Regions from separate parts of the Homo sapiens genome. Here region 1 is linked to region 2. Evidence: promoter capture Hi-C in human tissues and cell types (Jung and others, 2019). All regions are on one chromosome and are shown on one strand. The core of a region is centred on a gene start or on the middle of the fragment in contact, and the rest is flanking DNA. Distances in the headings are between cores, read along the strand shown. Region 1 holds the start of MIB2 (MIB E3 ubiquitin protein ligase 2). Region 2 overlaps GNB1 (G protein subunit beta 1).

What was found. Contacts are between HindIII fragments. The study calls those that stand out against the background at their distance.
Region 1: a contact is called between the fragment with the promoter of MIB2 here and a fragment that was not itself captured in region 2, in 2 of the 25 tissues and cell types used here (bladder and spleen).

Annotation. Positions count from the first base shown.
Region 1 is chr1:1,614,060-1,616,759 of GRCh38, forward strand. It overlaps MIB2 (MIB E3 ubiquitin protein ligase 2), which reads left to right and starts at 1,441. Exons shown (of 20, transcript NM_001170687.4): 1 at 1,441-1,574; 2 at 2,449-2,555. RefSeq lists an enhancer at 936-1,105 and silencers at 1,206-2,255, 2,286-2,375. The HindIII fragment of the contact is 4,042 bases long and covers 1-2,700 here.
Region 2 is chr1:1,822,125-1,824,824 of GRCh38, forward strand. All of the region lies in intron 3 of GNB1 (G protein subunit beta 1), which reads right to left. Among named protein-coding and RNA genes, the nearest start is that of NADK, 45 kb to the left of the region's middle. The HindIII fragment of the contact is 4,641 bases long and covers 1-2,700 here.

The sequences.
Region 1 (2,700 bases), core at 191-2,690, 210 kb before region 2:
AAAGAAAAAAAAAGATTGTACAGGAATTGTGGCATGGTTTTATACTGTAGCAGTGAACAGCAGGTACTCAATCATGAAGAGCTAAGCCTGATTTCATCACGACAGCTGTGAAAGTTGCAGGTACCAAAATGGAACTACTTCCACCAATCCCTAAACAAATGGAGTCGGGAGGCCACGAAGGGGGAGCTCTCATGCAGGAATACCTGCAGCAGGCCTCCTCACAAGACGCTCCTGCACGTCCTGCACGTTTGCCTGTAACCGGACTTACTGCAGGGAAATTCCTCAGGACTGCAGTATTCTAGATAAGCAGCTTGCACAAGGACGTCGGCCTGGTAAGGCTCTCTCCAACAACAAGCTAACGCCCACTCCTGCAGCAAGCGCCCACAGCCAGTGGTTTTTGTTACAAAACAACTTTTGTGAGCTCATCTGTATTTTCCCCTTCGCCCGGCCCTCTCAGATAGGCCTATGATCTGTCATGGCACGAACAGCCTAGGCTGCAACCCCCTGCGATTCCCAGATTAACTCACTTGTCCTGGAGAGCCTGCCTCTGGGTTTCCTTTCAGGTTGACAGTTTGGGAGCTAACAGGACCACGTGAGGGGTGCAGCGGGGAAGATCAGCCAGGTTCTCAGGGACCTTCTCCGGAAGTACGCAATGTCTACAATTAAGAAATGAGAGGCCGGGCGCGGTGGCTCACGCCTATAATCCCAGCACGTTGGGAGCCCTAGGAGGGCAGATCACGAGGTCAGGAGTTCGAAATCAGCCTGGCCAAAATGGTGAAACCCCGTCTTGACTAAAAATGCAAAAATTAGCTGTGCGTGGTAGCGCATGCCTGTAGTCCCAGCTGCTCGGGAGGCTGAAGCAAGAGAATAGTTTAAGCCCTGGAGGCGGAGGTTGCAATGAGCCGAGATCGCGCCATTGCACTCCAGCCTGGGCGACAGGGCGAGGCTCCGTCTCCAAAAAAAAAAAAAGAAAGAAAGAAAGAAATGAGAAACTAGCAGTGCATTGTTCAGAAACGCGGAGACTTCTCTCAGGAGAAAGCGAGAAGCAAGCGTCCAACTCTGGGGTGCAGAACCCGGGGCGGGAGGACGGGCCCGGACTGCCGTTTCTCGCTGTGTCCAGGTCTGCGTGACTCAAAACCCCGGATAGGGCCCGCACTGGTGGAGTCGGAAAGAGGTGGCTGCGGCGCGGCAAGTGCCGCCAGTGCCAGCGAGCGCGACGTCGCTCCCAAGCCCCCGTCTCTATGGCAACCGAGTGCGTCTCTAGGACCGCCACTGCGCAGGCGCCCGGAGGCTAAGCCGCTCGGAACCTAGCTGCGCCACGCAGGGTAGGCGACGCAGACGCTCCCGCGTGACGCACTTCCGGTGCTTGCCCTGCCCATCCCCGTGGCGGGGGCGTGGCCATGGCGGGGGCGCTCCGGCGGGGGCGGGCCCTGGGCTCCCGCCCTTCGGGTCCCACAGTTTCCAGCCGCCGCTCTCCTCAGTGCCCGGTGGCCCAGGAGGGCCTGGGAGCCCGAAGCCGTCCCCGAGTCGCTCCTAGGTCACTGGCGCGATGCGGGCCGTCCTCTCGGCTGATGGTGCGTGCGGGCGCGGATCTCCTCCCCTGGTCCTCCGCACCGTCCCCGAGTCGTTCTCCGCTCTGGCAGAACGCGAGCGCCGTCCGGTTCCCGCTCCCGCTGGCCCAGCAGCCCCGGGCTGGACTCGGCGTAGGGTCCGCACGGGATGGGCTGGGGCTGCGCGCGCAGCGCCGCCGCGGGGCCTCCTGGGAGTTGTGGTCCGGCCACCCGCGCGGGACTCCAGCTCCCGGCAGGCCTCGCGCGGCCCGGGGCCAGCGGCGCTGGGGTCGGCGCTGGGGTCGTCGTCCGGGCCGGGTGGGCTGCGGCGCGCGGCAGGCGCTCTGGCCTGGCCTGGCCGCCGCTGAGCAGTCGGGGCCGGTGGGTGGCCTCGAACGCCGGGACAGACCGACAGACGGACTGGCCGGCGGTCCCGCGCCCCCGAGCGGAGCGGGCGGGACGGAAACGTCCGGGCAAGTTGGGGTCGGCAGGTACTGCGCGGCCCTGGCAAGGTCTGGCAGCGGACAGGGCCGGGCGGCCTCCGCGAGCCACGGGCACGAATGACAGGGGGCGGGGCGCGCTCCGGGTGGGGGTGCCCGCCGTGCCCGCCCCTGGCCCGCCCGTTCCCCTGCGCCGGCGCCCGTGCGCGTCCCGGAGCCTCCTGACGTCTGCGAGCCGCGGCCGCCAGACCCCGGGCGCACGCAATTACGGGCCCGGCGCTGGCGGCTCCTGCGCGCTCAGACCCCAGGGAGCCCATCCGGGCAGGCGGCGGCCCTGAGTGTCGCGGCCGTGGGCCCGAGTGGACCTGGAGCCGGCGGGCAGCCCCGGGGGCAGACAGGCGACCGAGCCGCGGGTCGAGGTGCTAACTGTGCATCTTGGCATCTCCCCTCGGCCACAGGGTTGGAAGCCCAGCGAGGCTAGAGGCCAGTCCCAAAGTTTCCAGGCATCAGGGCTGCAGCCCAGGAGCCTCAAGGCGGCCCGGCGGGCGACTGGACGGCCGGACAGGTGAGCTCTTGATCGTCCGCGGCCTGATAGTTTGCACTTGGCTCTCCCACTTTGGGGCTCCGTGGAAGCCACGTCAGAGAGGCTGTGTTTGTGTCTGAGCATGCATGCGAGTGGAGGGGAGTGGTGAGTAATCCCGCGTCTCCTC
Region 2 (2,700 bases), core at 68-2,567:
ACCTTGTTAGGGTTAATTCCACCCGTTTCTTTTCATTCTTTTTCAAAAGACAGGGCCTTTCTACCTTACAAAGGCTGGTCTCAAGCTTTTGGGCTCATGCAATCCTCCTGCCTTGGTATCCCAAAGTACTGGGATTAACGGCATGAGCCACGGTGCCTGGCCGTCTCTCTTTTTACTTTTTTTTTTTTTTTTTTTGAGACGGAGTCTCGCTCTGTCTCCCAGGCTGGAGTGTGCAGTGGCGCGCTCTCGCCTCACTGCAAGCTCCGCCTCCCAGGTTCACGCCATTCCCTGCCTCAGCCTCCCAAGTAGTTGGGACTACAGGCGCCCACCACCACCACACCTGGCTAATTTTTTTTGTATTTTTTTTCTTTTAGTAGAGACGGGGTTTCACCGTGTTAGCCAGGATGGTATCGATCTCCTGACCTTGTGATCCACATGCCTCAGCCTCCCAAAGTGCTGGGATTACAGGCGTCAGCCACCGCGCCCGACCTCTTTTTACATTTTTTATGTGGCAACAAGAGCATGTGGGGAATGTCACGTGACATTTGTGCCAGCCCAAGAGGGAGCCCCCTGTGCAAGAAGGCCCTGGGGAATTCACAACGTGACAGGGTCCAAACCTCGGAAGGAGGTGCAACAGTTCCTTTTGGCCTTAATTTTTTAAATTTGGGTGTCTTTCACCTGTGCCATACAAGCTCTTTCCATCTGCTATGAATAGATCCAAGTCCACTATTTGTGAACAACTTATAGCTGTCAGAAAAACAAAATTTCTTCAAATATGCCAAATCACCCTACTATTTAAGACATTTTCAGGGTAAACTTTAAAATTCTGATTTCTAGGCCGGGCGTGGTGGCTCATGCCTGTAATCCCCGCACTTTGGGAGGCCGAGGTGGGCGGATCACGAGGTCAGGAGATCGAGACCATCCTGGCTAACACGGTGAAACCCCATCTCTACTAAAAGTACAAAAAATTAGCCGGGTGTGGTGGCGGGCGCCTATAGTCCCAGCTCCTCAGGAGGCCGAGGCAGGAGAATGGTGTGAACCCAGGAGGAGGAGCTTGCAGTGAGCTGAGATCGCGCCACTGCACTCCAGCCTGGGGAACAGGGCGAGACTGTCTCCAGAAAAAAAAAAAAAAAAAAAAAAAAATCTGATTTCTATAAGATGAAATATAGTCTCAAAAGCAGGTGGTAAAGAGCTGAGAGTGTTCTGAACCCCCCCAAAAACCCAGTTAGATTATTATTAAATAACAACACTTTGCTTTTCTTTTTTACTTGCCAAAAACCATGCTGACTTAAAATGAACAGCAGAAGCTTAAGTATTAAGTCAGGCAAAATTTGAATACCTTTTGGTTTTATTTAAATAGATATTTCAGAGAATAATTTTATATCAAACTAAATATTTCAGAACACATTTGATTAATTTTGGTGGAGGGGACATGTTAAACAAGTCTGATCAGAGCAAACTATTAAAAAAATCTAAGTCTTCCCTATTCACCTATGTAAGATCTTTTAAATGTTAAGATTTAAAATTCTTACAGTAGAGGATACTTTGTTTTCTCTTTGGCTGTAAATCTCAGAGAATTCCATTATTTTTTCTCAAGTTCAGGAACAAGTTGCCTAAAATTATGTTGGTGTTTCTCTCTCCAAATCCTGGTGGGCTTTCTAAACATGTAATTGGCCGTTTAAAAGGAAATACTTGACTTCATCCTTGCACTGGAGTCAGAAAAATAAACTGTTGTTTTTTATTTTATTTTACTGTATTTTGAGAAGGTGTCACTTTGTCACCTAGGCTGCAGTGCAGTGGTGCAATCACAGCTTACTATACAGCCTCAACCTCCTGGGCTCAAGTGATCCTCCTGGGTAGCTCAGACTACAGGCGCGCACCACCATACCCAGCTTATAAACTGTTATTTAGGTATGTACTGAATGTCATCAGCTTCCTGTACAGCGACACTCTGAAGAACAGCTAAAGCTTGACAGAGCAAACAAGAGTAAGAGAAAGCTCTTACATCAAATGGACAAAACCTAAAAACATACTGAAGACGTGGTTTTTCCTGAGAAGTCTGCCTCTTTTTCTCTTACTCTTCACATCAGCAGTTTCAGAAAGGAAACACATACTTGCATTAAATGTTTCTCTATAAAATATTTACTAGAAGTACTGCTTCACAAAAGTAGGAGCAGCAGAATGAATTCCATTTAGACCTACTGCTCCTCCCTTTTCAGAAAGTTATGAGGCAAGAGAATTGCTTGAAAGAGGTTGCAGTGAGACGAGATCGCGCCACTGCACTCCAGCCTGGGCACAACAGAGTGAAACTCTCTCTCAAATAAAAGTTTATGAACTCTGCAATTTAACATCCTACATCAGTCACAGACTGGAATTTAATGTTTTAGAATTCTGTGAAAGGTATTCTTTTTACAGTGCAGTTTATTTACACACGGTAAATAAATTTATCTTCAATTTTTTTTTTATTTTTCAGGGTCTCACTCTGACGCCCAGGTTGGAGTGCAGTGGCACAATCTCGGCTCACTGGATCCTCTGCCTCCCGGGTTCAAGGGATTCTCTGACTTTAGCCTCCTGAGTAGCTGGGAATACAGGCACACACCACCACACCCAGCTAATTTTTATATTTTTTGTAGAGATGGGGGTTTCACTATGTTGCCCTGGCTGGTCTCGAACTCCCGACCTCAGGTGATCCACCCGCCT